4 separate regions of the Homo sapiens genome follow, and all the other regions are linked to region 4. Evidence: promoter capture Hi-C in 16 types of primary human blood cells and fetal thymus (Javierre and others, 2016). All regions are on one chromosome and are shown on one strand. Each heading gives the region's core, a stretch centred on a gene start or on the middle of the fragment in contact. The rest is flanking DNA. Distances are from core to core; before and after follow the strand shown. Region 1 overlaps CPEB4 (cytoplasmic polyadenylation element binding protein 4). Region 2 holds the start of RARS1 (arginyl-tRNA synthetase 1). Region 3 holds the start of CPEB4 (cytoplasmic polyadenylation element binding protein 4). Region 4 holds the start of NPM1 (nucleophosmin 1).

What was found. Contacts are between HindIII fragments. The CHiCAGO score rates a contact against its expected background, and 5 or more counts as called.
Region 1: a fragment that was not itself captured here is called in contact with the fragment with the promoter of NPM1 in region 4 in 1 of 17 cell types (non-activated CD4 T cells); the score reaches 5.1 in non-activated CD4 T cells.
Region 2: a contact is called between the fragment with the promoter of RARS1 here and the fragment with the promoter of NPM1 in region 4, in 1 of 17 cell types (total B cells). The highest score is 5.3, in total B cells.
Region 3: the fragment with the promoter of CPEB4 here is called in contact with the fragment with the promoter of NPM1 in region 4 in 1 of 17 cell types (naive CD8 T cells); the score reaches 5.7 in naive CD8 T cells.

What each region holds. Positions count from the first base shown.
Region 1 is chr5:173,923,610-173,927,037 of GRCh38, reverse strand. All of the region lies in intron 2 of CPEB4 (cytoplasmic polyadenylation element binding protein 4), which reads right to left. Among named protein-coding and RNA genes, the nearest start is that of CPEB4, 37 kb to the right of the region's middle. The HindIII fragment of the contact is 638 bases long and covers 951-1,588 here.
Region 2 is chr5:168,484,728-168,488,433 of GRCh38, reverse strand. It overlaps RARS1 (arginyl-tRNA synthetase 1), which reads right to left and starts at 1,963. Exons shown (of 15, transcript NM_002887.4): 1 at 1,891-1,963. The coding sequence starts at 1,935. The HindIII fragment of the contact is 3,317 bases long and covers 688-3,706 here.
Region 3 is chr5:173,886,941-173,890,536 of GRCh38, reverse strand. It overlaps CPEB4 (cytoplasmic polyadenylation element binding protein 4), which reads right to left and starts at 2,188. Exons shown (of 10, transcript NM_030627.4): 1 at 1-2,188. The coding sequence starts at 803. RefSeq lists enhancers at 1-417, 2,442-2,681. The HindIII fragment of the contact is 9,803 bases long and covers 1-3,596 here.
Region 4 is chr5:171,386,462-171,390,383 of GRCh38, reverse strand. It overlaps NPM1 (nucleophosmin 1), which reads right to left and starts at 2,535. Exons shown (of 11, transcript NM_002520.7): 1 at 2,378-2,535; 2 at 254-333. The coding sequence starts at 2,435. It overlaps MIR3912 (microRNA 3912), which reads left to right and starts at 3,624; the gene lies at 3,624-3,728. RefSeq lists silencers at 1,815-1,874, 2,195-2,254. The HindIII fragment of the contact is 7,200 bases long and covers 1-3,753 here.

The DNA of each region.
Region 1 (3,428 bases), core at 20-2,519, 2.5 Mb before region 4:
CTGGGATTACTGGCACCCGCCATCATGCGCGGGTAATTTTTTTTGTATTTTTGTAGAGACAGAGTTTCACCATGTTGGCCAGGCTGATCTCGAACTCCTGACCTCAGGTGATGCCTCCACCTCAGCCTCCCACAGTGCTGGGATTACAGGCATGAGCCACGGTGCCCAGCCAAGAACTCATCTATCTTTAATCATTATCCAGGTTTGGGCACATTCAGAATTTAATTTCTAAAGGGAGAAGGAAGGCATTAGGATTTCAGCATGTGAACCTATTTGATGAGCAAAATTCAATCTTTGAAGGCTCTTGGTATTGATTTTGTTATAAATATAAAAAATACTGCCTGGTCAGCAGCCCTAATCTTAAGGAACATTATGACAGGAAAAGCAGTAGTCTCTGGAGGCCAGCTGCAGAATTTGGAACCAGAAGCCTGGCATACATCATGCCGAAGGCATAGGCTATATTTGGTGACATGACTCAACCTAGCCAAATATAGGCAACAGATACAGTGTGACTCTGGGGATCTACACTACCAAATCCTACAACCTAGAAAAGATCCATACGTCAACTAGGCAATTCTATGCTAAGCATTTGCCAGTTGGAAGAACCAATATTTACCAACAGACTGACTTAGAATAGGTGGGGGCAGGAGGTGCTAAAAAGAACAGTATGTACTATCATATCCTTTTAAGACACTAACTAAAGTAACCAAGTCAAAAAATAAAAGGAGAAAAGACCAGAGGAAATCCTCCTTTACATTAGCAGTATATATAAGTATTACTTTCATTAATTAGGTAAAATAAGTTATTTTCTAAAGAATAATCCAGATATTACTACTACTGATAATTCAACAGGAAATAATAAAAATAAATGCTGCCATTTCAAACACACAAACACCAAAAAGTATCAAATGTATCTGCAGCACAATTAGATTTCACGCTATCTATAAGCTTTTCTTTTTCACAGTCATGCCAACAATGTTGACAACATGGTGCAGGCCAAGGAATGATAATAGGGAATAACTCTAAAGTGACAAGTAGCATAAAATTTTTAAGGATCAACTTTTGATTGATTCACCCTATAAAAATGTGGATACTCCAAAGAAAAGCAGGGTGTTTGCAGAGGAGTCTTCAGTGAGCACCATTAAAAATTTCTAATGCACACAAATATATACATACACATACATTTGCAGTTGTTGATTGCCTAACTAGAAGTGCTGCTCCTACCTCTGCTCCTGCTAATTTTGTTTAGCTCACATCTAAGTAAATCAAAACTATACCGTCATAAGTAATATTTTAAAGGAGGTAGTCCTCCTACCCCTGCACATCTTCTGTTTTTACAAACTCCACTTGAGACTTGCAGCAAGATGGCGCTGTGGGGACCTGGACATCGGACAGCAAAGCTCAAGAAATGTGTAATAAATCCACTGGTTTTGAATGCCAACTTTATATACTTACACAAATGCAGAAGACATAGCAATATGAACAAAACAGCATTCAATATGTTCTATAATTTAATGGTATAAATTTAATTTTTAATAATTTAGTGTATTGACACAAAAATAACTCCCCAAATCAAAATCAGTAAGCTTATTCTACCCCCTTATCTATCTGTGCTACAACCAACTTCCAACAAAGACATTCCCATGCAAAATCACAAAGAAGGAACTGGCTGAGACAGATATCAGCTGAAGAGTCTTGTCCCCTCCCAAAGAGCCACTTAAAATTCACTAAACACACAGAGTTTAGGCTAAACAAAACCCTTCTCTGCTACAAATTTGGCTTTCAGCTCAAAAGCCAGTACTTACAAAAATCTTTGAATTAATGGCTTTCCTAACTCTCCACACTGCCATTTCCCTTCCCACATCAGGCACTCCAGCCATTCAGAACTGCTGGCCCATAACTTCAACTTCTGGGTAACTCCCTCTACCTAGAAGGCCCTCCTCTCTCTCTCTGCCCCTCAATGTCTTACCACTCAAGCCTCCACACTTTTGTCCCAGCAGTTCCCCTGCTAGGCCTCACATCTTATGAGAAGCCTTCCCTGCCCCACATCATCCTTGCTTTGATTCAGATAACCCTCTGTACTCCTTCCAGTATTCTTTACACTTATTACACCATATTTACATTACTTGTTTTAATCTCTTGCTGTAGGGCAATGAGATCTTTATGGATTTTGGGTGTGCTACCCCAGAGCCTGGAGCAGAGAAAGGTGCTCAATAAACAACTGTGGAAAATGAATGAAGCAAAGTCAGCAGTTGATGATCTCTCTGCCATGGAAGATGCAGTGTAATGGGTAGAGTCAAGCCGGTATCATCTTGTGACCTAAGTCAAATTATTTAGCTTTGCTGAACCTCAGGAAAACAGAGATAATTCCATTGACTTCACAGAGCTGTTGTGAGACAGTCTTGAGATAATGTTTGCAGAATGCCAAAAAAAATCCCTCAATATGCAGTAGGTACTTAACAAAATTAATTCCTTTCCCTTCCCCAGTAATAAGCCGAAGATAACCAACAATTTTCCACTTGTAAGAGAAAGGACAAGTAGGATTTATTTTGGCCAAAAAGTTCCAAACTGGAACCTTGGAAAAGGGAGGGGCAAATCTGGGGGATATTTCAGCTTCAGAAAAATGAGAATTTGCTAGTGTCCTTGGTTAAAAACAGGGATATAAGTCTTCTCAGGAAGAGAGAAAAGAACAAAACCTAACCCCTTACTTTCATCAAAGCCAAACTGGCAAAGATACATAATAATTTTAATGAAAACTTCAAAAATTCAACCTAAAATTTTTCTTTTCAATAAAACCAGAGAGGATCTTCATTTTGAACCAAAACCCCAAATTTAATGTTTCAATTGTAATATGATGATTGAAAAACAGATTGTAGTAGTGGCAAAAGAAAATAACACTTATCTGTAAGATGGGAGAGGTCAATGGAATATGTTTCTACAGATGGAGGAAGGTTTCATAGAAGGGAAGGACTGCTTTGACTACAACTCGGGGCAGGTGCGAAGCTGCAAGATCTAAAAGCATCTAAGAATTTCAGGCAGAAGGGAATGTCCAGAGAGAAACTAGTAAGAAGCTGACCCAATTAAGGAATTCAAAAGATTTCCTACTGCCAGTAAAGCTAACAACAAACCAGCAAGCAGGAAGGCTATTTTTATCCTTGCCAGAAGCCTTCTGACTCTAGATGCTACATTTAGAGGACAGAGCAACAAGATAACTTGCCTTAAGAGGATGTTATGATACCAGAGATTAATGGCAATTTTTTAAGCTCTAAAAAACTCGGCAAAACTAGGTGTAGTTTTTGTCCAAGCTAAGCCAGCCAAAGTCAGTTGGAAAAAAAAAGGTGAAAAAAATATAATGGAAAGAAAAGTGGAAAAACAGACCAAGTAGTAGAAAAAATTAAAGCAATCCAGAAAAAAAGCCAAGGCAGTAA
Region 2 (3,706 bases), core at 714-3,213, 2.9 Mb after region 4:
AATATTGGCCAGGCATGGTGGCTCACGCCTGTAATCCCAGCACTTTGGGAGGCCTAGGCAGGTGGATGACTTGAGGCCAAGAGTTCAAGACCAGCATGGCAAACATAGCGAAACGCTGTCTCTACTAAAAATACAAAAATTAGCTAGGCATGGTGGCGCATGCCTGTAATCCTAGCTACTTGGGAGGCTGAGGCAGGAGAATTGCCTGAATCCCAGAGGCTGAGGTTGCGGTGAGTCGAGATCGTGCCACTGCACTCCAGTCTGCTTGACAGAGCGAGACTCTGTTTCAAAAAAAAAGAAAAAGAAAAAGAATATATTAACCACACATACATGTGTTTTGGGAGACAGGAATCGGAGTAAGTATATAATGGGATATGCCTCATGTCTCATATCCCTAGTTCTTTTCTTTGGCTCGATAAACACTCTGATTTAGCAAGAGTAGTTAAGTTTCAGGTTGACCAACCTGCTTTTATTCCCAAATCCTATGACCTGGGACTCTTAAAAAACCCAAATGTCCTTTGTCACATTCAAAATAGCTCAAGGGTCTGCCTTTCACCCTTTCTGGGACTAAACAATTTTCCCATTTCTTCCTGTTTCCAGTGTCTTAGGTCCTAGACTAGACCAGACCAGGCTTTGTAGTTTAACATCTAAAACTAAAGACATGTCAATTCAGAAAGAAATAAAGCTTCCAACTTAAACTGCAAAACTCAGGGGGAGTTCCTCACCTGAAATTTCAGAATACTTACTGGGAGATAGCTACAGCCAAAACCAAATTGCCAAAAATGAGCATACATTATGTTCCAGGAGCTGAGCTAAAAACACTTTTCAGAAATTACCTTCATGATTATCACAACCAAGTGAGGCAAAGATAAATACATACCGATAAATAAATGGCTCAGAAATGTAAAGAGCTTGCCAATTTACTTGACTAACTTGTACTTTGTGACTGCTGATTAAGTATACAGCCGTAACAGGACAGAGTACTGTGAACTATCTTCCTACCATCCCTCCCCACCTGGGCATAAAAGGTAATGGAACTGTTCCGCTTTCACTTTTTTTTTTTGTAGGGGGACGGAGTCTCACTCTGTCGCCCAGGCTGTGGTGCAGTGGTGTGCTCTCTGCTCACTGCAAGCTCCGCCTCCCGGGTTCACGCCATTCTCCTGCCTCAGCCTCCCGAGTAGCTAGGAATACAGGGACCCCCCCCAACACAGCCGGTTAAGTTTTTTTGTATTTTCAGTAGAGACGGAGTTTCACTGTGTTAGCCAGGATGGTCTCGATCTCCTGACATCGTGATCCGCCCACCTCGGCCTCCCAAAGTGCTGGGATTACAGGCATGAGCCACCGCGCCCGGCCGCTTTCACTTTTATATGGTGTGGCTGCTCCTTCCCGACGAATGCTGAGGGCACAGAGCAAGCTCCGCTGGTCTGATAATGAATCACCCCATGGGCTTATTAGGAATCCTCTCGCTCAGTAACCCGGGAAGAACTGCGGCTGAGCTGCAAACCAAGACCCAGAGCTCTGAATGTATTCCCCCCTTGTCTATCTCCCCGCATCCCCTAAATCGCGTGTGTATGCAGAAGAGGAGGTGGATTGTAGGGAGAGAACTGTTCTGAACATGCCAGGCTCCAGCCCACCGAAGACGCTGGTTTGGGGGAGGCCTGGGAGAGGGTGGGGACCCTCCATTCCGCTGAAAATCACAGTCACACGGGCTTTGAAATGATGGGTGCTTCCTCTCTCAACCCTTCCTGTTCCCACAGGGACCGTGCCGCTCCACTCTGAGAGGACCAGGATGGTCCTCGCCTAGCTGTCCCGCCCCCGAAGCCGCTTGGGCAGGAGTCAGAGCCTGCTCCATCTCTTTCAGGCCTTCCCGCCGGTCTCCTGCGTCCAAACCTGCTGCAGCAGCCGCGCGGAGCACTCAGACACCAGTACGTCCATCCTCCCATCAGCGTCTCACTCGCCAAGTGGACGGAAGCGGAAACGGTCAGCCTCTCCCGGAAGCGGAAACCCCCTCCGGTCCGCTGTCCCGTCGGACTGGGTGCTGGCGCCTCTGCTGCCTCCTGGCGGGATCCAGTAGACACTGCGAGGAGAACCCGCGGGGATTTCGGTCAGGAGCGAGGCCGCAACTCAGGGACGTTTGGGCGAGGGGAGAGGAATTGAGCAGACACTAACCAGAGCTGCTCTGTGCTTGGATAGACTAGGACAGTCACTGACCTAGAGCTTCTGGCTCTCAAAGGCCTCACTTTGCCCCTTTGTGAAATGGGCACAAAACTAACAAATCCATTCATTTATTCAACAAACATTTATTGTGTACTTTAAAATGCCAGACAGTATTCTAGGCTCTGGGGGCACAAAGAAAACAAAACAGACACGATCTCCCCTCTCACGGCAGACACATTTTAGAATGGAGAGAGAAAATAGACCAAAAAAGGCAATAATCTCAGGTAGTTTTAATTGCTAGGAAGGCAATGTGATAGAGTGACTTGGGTGAGAGAAGACATCTCTAAGCAAGTGACATTTGAGTTAAAATCTTATTTATTTTTCCAGTTTTATTGAGGTATAATTGACAAAGATTGTATATCATAACGATGTACAACGTAATGTTTTGATATATGTATACATTCTGAAATGATTACCACAACCAAAATAATTAACATAACCTTCATCTCATACAGTTATCATTTGCATGTGTGTGTGTGTGTGTGTGTGCGCGCGCGCGCGCGCGCGTGTGTGCTGTGAACATTTAAGATCTATTCTCATCCTGGGAAACAGCTAAGACCTCGTCTCTACAAAAAAATGGAAAAATAGCCGGGCATGGTGGCATGTGCCTGTAGTCCCTGGTATATAGGAGGCTGAGGTGGGAGGATCACTTGAGCCCAAGAATTTGAGGCTGCGGTGAGCCATGATCATGCCACTGTACTCTGCCTGGATGACAGAGTGAGACCTTTTCTCTCTCTATTTAAAAACAAACAAAACGAAACGAAAACGAAAACTGCAAGTATACAATATACATTACATCTCTAGAATCTATTCATCCCGCCTAACTGAAACTTTGTAACTTTGAGCAACATCTCCCATCTTTCCTACCTCTGAAGCCCTGACAACCACCATTCTATGCTCTGCTTCTATGAATCTGAATTTTTTAGATTACACATATACATGGGCTAATGTAGTATTTGTCTTTCTGTGCCCGGCTTATTGCACCAACATAATGTTCTCCAGGTTCATCTATGTTGTCACCCATAACAGGGTTTTCTTTTATAAGGCTGAATAATATTTCATTGTATATATATTGAGTTAAAATTATAAACAGCAAACCTGGGATATATGTTCTAAGAGGGCAGGGACCTTAATTATCTTGTTCACTCTTCTCTATGACTCCAGAACTTAGAAAGTAGCACTCTAAACGTTTTCGCTTCCGTGCCTCATAAAAGTATTTTAAAAATTCATATCCCAGTGTATACTTTTAAAAGTTGACATCGAGCTAGGCACAGTGGCTCATGTCTGTAATCCTAGCACTTTGGGAGGCTGAGGCAGGCAGATTTCTTGAGCCCAGGAGTCCAAGACCAGCCTGGAAAAAATGGTGAAACATCGTCTCTACCAAAAATACAAAACATTAGCCAGGCATGGTGGTGTGCACCTGTAGTCCCAGCTATATAGGAGACTTAGGAGGCAGGATTGTTTAAACCCAAGAGTTTGAGGTTGCAGT
Region 3 (3,596 bases), core at 939-3,438, 2.5 Mb before region 4:
AAAGCAGCATTTCTATGTGTGAAGGGTGGGGGATGGGGACTGGCAGGAGACCTCCTTTGCTGCTGATGCTGGCTGTGATGATGCTGGAAATGAGGGTGATGTGGGTGGTGCTGTGAGAGAGGCCCGATCTGAGGAGAGAAGCTGCCTCCAAAGCCAGGGCTGACATGATGGGGGAAATTTTGAAACAACAGAGCACCGTTATTAGCCGAAGCAGCAGGGACCCCTCCCTGGTGAAAGAAACTTGCATCTTCATTGATTATTGTAGAGGAGGAAGGCGCTATCGCTGCTGACCAGTTACTGAAACCAGTAAGAGACGATGCGCTAGATGTCAAGGGTTGGGTTGAAGTACCTAGCCCAGTGGCTTCTTGATAATCAAACCCTGTCAACACTGGAGATTCGATCCTTATTTTCTCCTTCCCATTGCCATTTTCCGAAGAATTGTCCCCTTGATTTTCTTCTGATTTTGCCTTCTCTGTTTCAGGCAGTATTCCAGCTTCCTGACCTGGACTTGGGGAAAGCTGCTGCTTTTCTAAGGGGTCTTGCTGTTCCTGTTGCTGACTTTTTGCTTTTTCTGACCCCAAGATCTCATCCTGAATGTTATGGGTAGCTGGAGCAGGAAAAAGCCAAGCTGACCCAGCACTGCTGCCATTGGCAGCTGTGTTATTATTTATAAAAGCAGCAGGGCTGGGGGTGGCATTTTGGTGATGGTGTGGAGGCTGCAGATGTGGATGGAATCTGACTGGAAAAGCAGATTTATTCCCAGTATTGCTTTGCACTAGCACTCCAAACCCGTAATCCCCCATTTATTATCTTTAGGAGCAGAATCTCACAATAAAAAATGACAACCTGATGTCTCACGCCTTTTTTTTCCTCTACCCCAAATTTAAGTTGTTTGCTTGCTTGCTTGAAATGTCTTATTTATAGCTAGCTCAAAGATCGCAGCTTATCACCTTAAATTGTTCTGATTTGGAATTCTGGTCTCTGAAAGAAAAAACAACTCTTAAAAAAATCTCTTAAAACATTGACTTGGATCCAATTGGGCTTATTTTTAGGAGGGAATAAAAATGAAGAGGGTAAAAATCAAGTCTTTGGTTAGTAAAATAGGCGCTTTCTTTTTCCAAAGGAAAATGTACATGAATGACAAAAACAGAGCTTCTCAAGCATCTATGGATGTAGAAGAATAAGCCTTGCGCGGAGTAAAAATATAGATATATATAATTTAACAATCACATATGGTTTTCCTCAGCAGTTTAGATTCACTCACATAAAAATTAGAATAGGACTAAGAGGGGAATACGTTCTTTTCTTGGCAGCTTGGTTAAAAAAAAATCAGGAATAATTTAAGAACATTATATATTATATATTTATATATATAGATTATATTAGGTTATCTGGGGTGGGAAGTGAATTCCTGGTTTCGGGAGAGGAAATCAGCATTGACTAATGGAAAGATGATTGCAGGGAGGTTTCTGCTGTTCCTGGTCCTGTTTTCTGCTCTTTCGCAGGGTGCAGTTTTGGCCTCTGGGGCTGTTCCTGAGGCTCCGGGTGCAGATCTTGCTGCGGTCGCTGTTCCTGGGCTCCCCGCGGCTTCCTCTCCCCCATGAAAGGGGTTGGAAACACCCGTTTCTCCCTCTTGCGGGGGTCGCGATCAGGAGGGATTAGCGAGACTCGACGAGGGTGAGCGGGCGGCCTGGGGGTGCGGGGACCGAGGGGGCGACCTGGAAGGTCCTGCGGTTTCTGCCTCTTCCCCTCTCTGCGGCTCCGGGGTTTTTTTCCCTCATGGGACCCAGGGGCGGTTTGTTCAGTTCCCTCAGTTCGATTCTCCGCAGAGAGGGAAAAAAGAGGAAAAAAAGGAAAAACCCACTACCGTAGTTATTTTAAAGGAGAAGGGCCTCCCCCCTCGGCTTTCTCTCTCTTTTCCCCCAGAATTTTTTTTTAAACTATAATTTAGAAGGCTTTTGTTTCTCCTCACGGTTGCTGGGCCGTCGCCGCCGTCGCCGCTTTACCCTGGTCCCGCAGTCCCCGCTGTCGTTGTTGAGGACTCCTCCTGGTTCTTCTTTTTCTTTCCTTCTTCCTCCTCTTCCTCCTCTGCTGTCGCCGCTGCTGCCGCCGCCGCCGCCGCCACCGCCTCCCGGTGCCCGGGTCCCGCAGCCGCGGCTGAGTCCTTCTCCTCAGGACCGAGCCGAGTGAAATGACAACCAGCTGGAAAGACCCAGAGACACTTCCGGTTCGAAGAGGGAGGGGTGGGGGTAGCACTCATTCCCCACCTACCTGCCGGAAGACCAATCATCTGTTAGAACTCAGGCGAGGCCACGCCCCCTCGCTTCAGAGCTACTCCCAGGAAGGTCGAAAAGTTACCTCCAGAGACGCCTCTTCCGTCTGCGCCTCGCCTAGTGAGGCCCGGCGCCTGGAACCCGCTTCCCCCACCCAGAGTGAGCGCAGCAGGTCGCCATCTTTTGTGTGGGCAAGGGACTCCTTTGATATTTCTCTTCCCTAACTGGGCTTTGCAGGAGGAGCAATAGGGACGTGTCAAGGAGAACGGATTCCTCGCTCACGAAGGCATACGGTCAAGGTGTTGGAGATCGAAGTGGCGGCCCGTGAAACCGCGGATGAATGAGAAGGGTGCCCACAGTAAAGGTGGTGCTCCAAGCATCACGTGCTCTGGCCCGAGCTCCGCCCCAGAGGGATCTGGAAGGGGAGGCGGGTCTTGCCAGCAGCTGTGCGGTGCCTAGAACTGCGTTTGCCCTTGCCCAGAATGTAGACCTCACGAGGGACTCTCCCTTAACCTTCCATTCGCTCACCCGCACCTCCCACTCTCCCATTCTGCTAGGCTCGCATCTGGTGCAGTCTCCCAGGTGCAGAGATGCAGCTGAGGCGTCTGTGGCTATGCCCCCGTATCATCCCGATCTAGTACACCTTACACGCAATACCAGAGGGAAAATTCCAAAACTAAAATTTTATCTTGACCCTCACATGCTCCGATTTCTTCTATGGTTGCCCATTATTTCGAAGATAAAGGCCAAACTTGTTAGTCTGGTATTCAAGCCTTTCTACCTAATGGGTGGTATATCTTAGTGCCTCTTCCCCCTCCAAACACACTCTCAATGCCTTTTTACATGTCCTTTCCACTCTTCTCCTTTGGTAAATTCCTATTTATTTCTAGGAATCAGTTCAAAAGCCACCAACAGCATCTTCTGAATTCTCTCTTATAAGCGTCCACGGCCCTGTGTACCTCTCGTGCTTGTTTCTCACACTATATTGTGATGGTTTATGTCTTCCAGACCTGTGCTGGACCGTGGGCTCTTTCAGGAGCAGACATTGTAGATAGGAGACATCAGTGAATGAATCCTGAAAACGTGAATGAACAAACCAGCAACAATGAAGTCTTCCCTGAGTGACAGCCCCCCAACCCACTGCCACCCCTTCCACCCGTCACCCACCCCCCACCCCTCACTCCTGTTTCCAAGTCTGAATTAATTATTTCCTTCCTTTTGCCATTTGGTTTGGAGCTCACATATCAGACTTTTCATTATGTTTGGTACTCAAGGGCTTTAATGTCCTGTTTATCTTTGTACATTCCCAACGCTATGACCACC
Region 4 (3,922 bases), core at 1,286-3,785:
GCTTTGTAATTCAACTGAAGAAAATAAGGCAAGTTGAACAGTGTGACTGGAATTTACATGGTTACCAAATGAGTGGTATAGATGCCAAGTTCTTCAAAGATGTACAGACAGTGAGGTACACACAATACCCAGGTGTAAGAAATAGTATTTTATAAGCAGTCAGCAAAGGAAAAAAAGTCTCAAGCCACATGAATAGAAACTAAAAGGCTGAAATCAAGTAGGGTTAAGTAGTTTATTTTGAAAGTTTAAGTACCGTTCTTAAAGATAACTGGTGCTCATTTTCATCATTATCCACCTTAAAGTGATAATCTTTGTCGGCCTTTAGTTCACAACCTGTAAATGAAGAAAAAAGCAACTCTAACAAGGAGAAAAATAACACTGAAACTTAAGTGTGGGTAACCAAAAAGGTCAGGTCTAACTTTTGAACTAGTTTTTCACTATTTTAGCTACCAGAGGGCAAAGCAGAATGATCAATTCCTAGATTTCTTGAACAGAAACCTCTACAGACACCCATAAAAGACTATAATTCCATTCTCTCATCATACCATATTTCATCTCTAACTACGCTGATAGGTACTGTTATTCTGCATAAACAAGCTCAATGGTTTAGTAAATCTCAACCTGAAGCAATTATCTGAAACCAAATGTAATGTCCAATGTTAAGTTTCCCACTATTTAAAACAGCTGATTTACCTACCTAAATTCCCAAATGGCAATTTCGAAATGAGAACGGTTACAAACATGAATAGCTTACTATTACAAAAGAAAAATGACAAAAGTAAAAGAACCGAAGTTTGCTACAGGGATCAACACTCCACTCTTTAAAGCAACAGAAAGTGACATACGCCTCAAACTATATTCAGAAATTATGTTTAAGACAAGGAGGGTTCTTTCCGATAGTTATCAAAAAGTACTGATATAAATTTACCAGAATTCTCAGCTATCCAAAATAACTAGGAATTAAAGCCTTAATGTTTTGAATACATATGTCTACTCTCACTCCATGAATGGGCAAAATTCTTCAAAACACTGTCAGAATAAAAATTTTAAATGATTCCATTTAACTATCATCTAACCGTTACCAATACATATACATGCTTAAATGTGAACAGACGTTTAATTAACAAATCTCAGCACGGATAATGAACAAGATAAAATTCACGGTAGGATTTGCATTTACTTCAAAGTCTGAATAGTACAAAGATTAGGCTTCTGCAATTAATCCTACTGAGATCAAAAACCCAAGTGGGACTCTCCTTTTTGGGGCAGGACTACCGCAAGTCGAGGGGGGTGGTGCTCCCAAAATTCTGCGAATAGTCTTAGGTCTTGATCTGACTCAAACCGAACACTCTACGTGTTTCTTGTATTTAGAAAAGCAGTTTGGTCAATGCCGCACAAATGGCGGCATGCGAGGACGTCCCCCTAAAACGAAGCCTCATTAATATTCACGAAGCAGCAGCTACGGAGTCAAGCGTCTTGGTTTAGATTTAGTCTCTTATTGCCTTTACTAAGTACAACCTTCGTTAAGTGAGTTTATCTCTGGGCACCAGTATCCTCATCTGCAAAGTGGGGCTAGCTCCACCTACCGCAGTGAGACAGAAAAGGGGCTCAAAAAAATGAGAGCTGCCATCACAGTACATGCTGTAAGCACTGAACAAAGACCTCCAGAACCCTAGTGCTACCAGCCTCTTAACATTTCCCACTTCAACAGAGCCACAGCATCCCTGGCTCACGAGTGGCAACACGCCGGTGAGTCCCGGATGTAGCGCCCACACCCCCCTCCCTCCCCCAACCACGTGGCAACCACGTGCTCCCAGCGGTTGCGGCCTCCTCACGCCGCGCCGCGCCTCCCCACCCCCAGTAACTGGCCGAAGCACGCGAGGTAAGTCTACGTCCGGCAGCTCCAGGCTCTGAGGCCAGAATAACGCCAGGCTGTGCATCTACCCGCTCCAACAAGCAGGCCCATGCTTCCCGGTGAACCCAGCCTCCAGGACCACCAACCCGGGGCCTGGCATCAGAAGCCTATGAACCACCGCCGTTAGAAAATAAACCACGCCTGGAGCTCCGCCACGTATCCCCGGCAAAGGCCGAACTTCCAGGCGGCCGGTTCCACTTTACCTCAGGCCCCGGGCCTCGGACCGCTCACGCCCCAGACGCTTCAGGCCGCTCGTCTCCTCCCCCTTCACGCCACCGGCTCCCCCCGCGGCTCCAATCCCTCCAGGTCCAGGGCTCAGGCAGCTCTTCCCACCCGCTCAGGCCTCCCGTCGGTCTGGCGGTCTCCACCAGACCCGGTTGCAGCCGGATTCCCGCCCCTCACCCCCACCCTCACCGCCACCAGGCCCCGCTCGGCCTCGCTCCAGCTCCCCCCAGCAGTTACCGAAAAGATAGTTCTGGGGCCTCAGGGGGCTCATGTCCATGTCCATCGAATCTTCCATCGGGTGGCGGCACGCACTTAGGTAGGAGAGAAGGCGGACGGAGATAAAAGAACGCTGCTCCAGAGAACAACCGCGCAGGACGGAATCACACCAGGGAAAGGACGCAGGCTCCCCGCGCTTATATATAGACCCTGAAGATCTCGCGAGCGCTTCCCAAGTCCCGCCTCCGCGCGCGTGCTCCGAAGCCCTCCCACCCCCGTACCGTAGCCGTCCTGCGCAAGCGCTTTTCAACCCCACTCCTTTCTACCTCGCCCCCACCTCCTTCCAGGTACTCCGCGGGCTCCCACCGAGCACGCGCACTCGTACACTGGCCCCACCCCTCCGCTGCTGTCGCCTGTGCGCACGCGTGCTTTCCAGTCGTAACGCGCACTCCCCACCTCCAACCCTTCCACGTCCTCTCCCGCTCAAGCGCGCCGGCCTCCCGCCAAGAGTCTGCGCAGCCCACCCTGCAAAATGGCGTCGGCAGCCCTTAGCTGTGTAAGATATGGCGGGTTAGCCGGCTGCGAATGAGCCAGAGAGCACCTCGATTCACCTTTCCCCATCCCCTAGTGCCCTGCAAGCCTCCAAACAGGCGTAATCACTTCAGGAATTTTTTACTTGCCTGAAGGCTTCGGATCGCAGTTAATCGTTACCCCAAAGTTCAGGTGCCAGAGAGAGTGAATTGCGGCTTATTCTTTGTTAGGAAGGAAAGATGTAGTTACCGGCCAGACTTACGGAACTTTGTTTTTCAGCTCTGTCCTTCCTGAGAAAACATCTCCAAAGTCCTTATCTTTACGTAACTTGGGGGCCAAAAGGGGACTGAATCAGTCTCCAAATTAGCAAGGACATCGCCCTAAGAGAGCTCGGAGGGTGGGCCGACTCTGACTTCTTGCCGCTCTTAATCTTTAACATTCCTCCTGAAAGAAAGCGGGTGACTTGTAAGAACTACAGAAGCCTTAATTCGAATATTTGGGAGCGAGCATGGGAATTAACGTTTTAAGCTACACCTTGACAAACTCCGAGGCACCCCAGCACCCCGCGGGCATTGGGGCGTTCTGAAGACCCGTAATCTTTTTTTTTTAAGCCTCAACATATCAAACAAATTTAAGAAGTGAGGAATACAAATGATAGCCTCAGAAAGGAAGACACCCCCACCCCAAGGCATTATTTCTTACAGGAAAATTATAGAGACGATTTCAGTGTCTATCAAGAGAGGAATGAACAGTTAAATTATAACATGTCCATATTATGGGTTAGTTGTGGACACATACTAACGCATAATATGGACATGTTATAATTTAACTGTTCCTTTCTGAGAGCTCCTGTGTCACATAAAGCTTTGAGTCACTTAAATTTGTTATGCCTTTTTTTGTGTGTGTGTGGAGACAGAGTCTCGCTGTGTTGTCCAGGCTGGAGTGCAGTGGCGTGATCTCCGCTGGATGCAACCTCCGCCTCCCGGGCTCCCGAGTAGCGAGGACTACAGGTGCATGCCACCACGCCCGACTAAT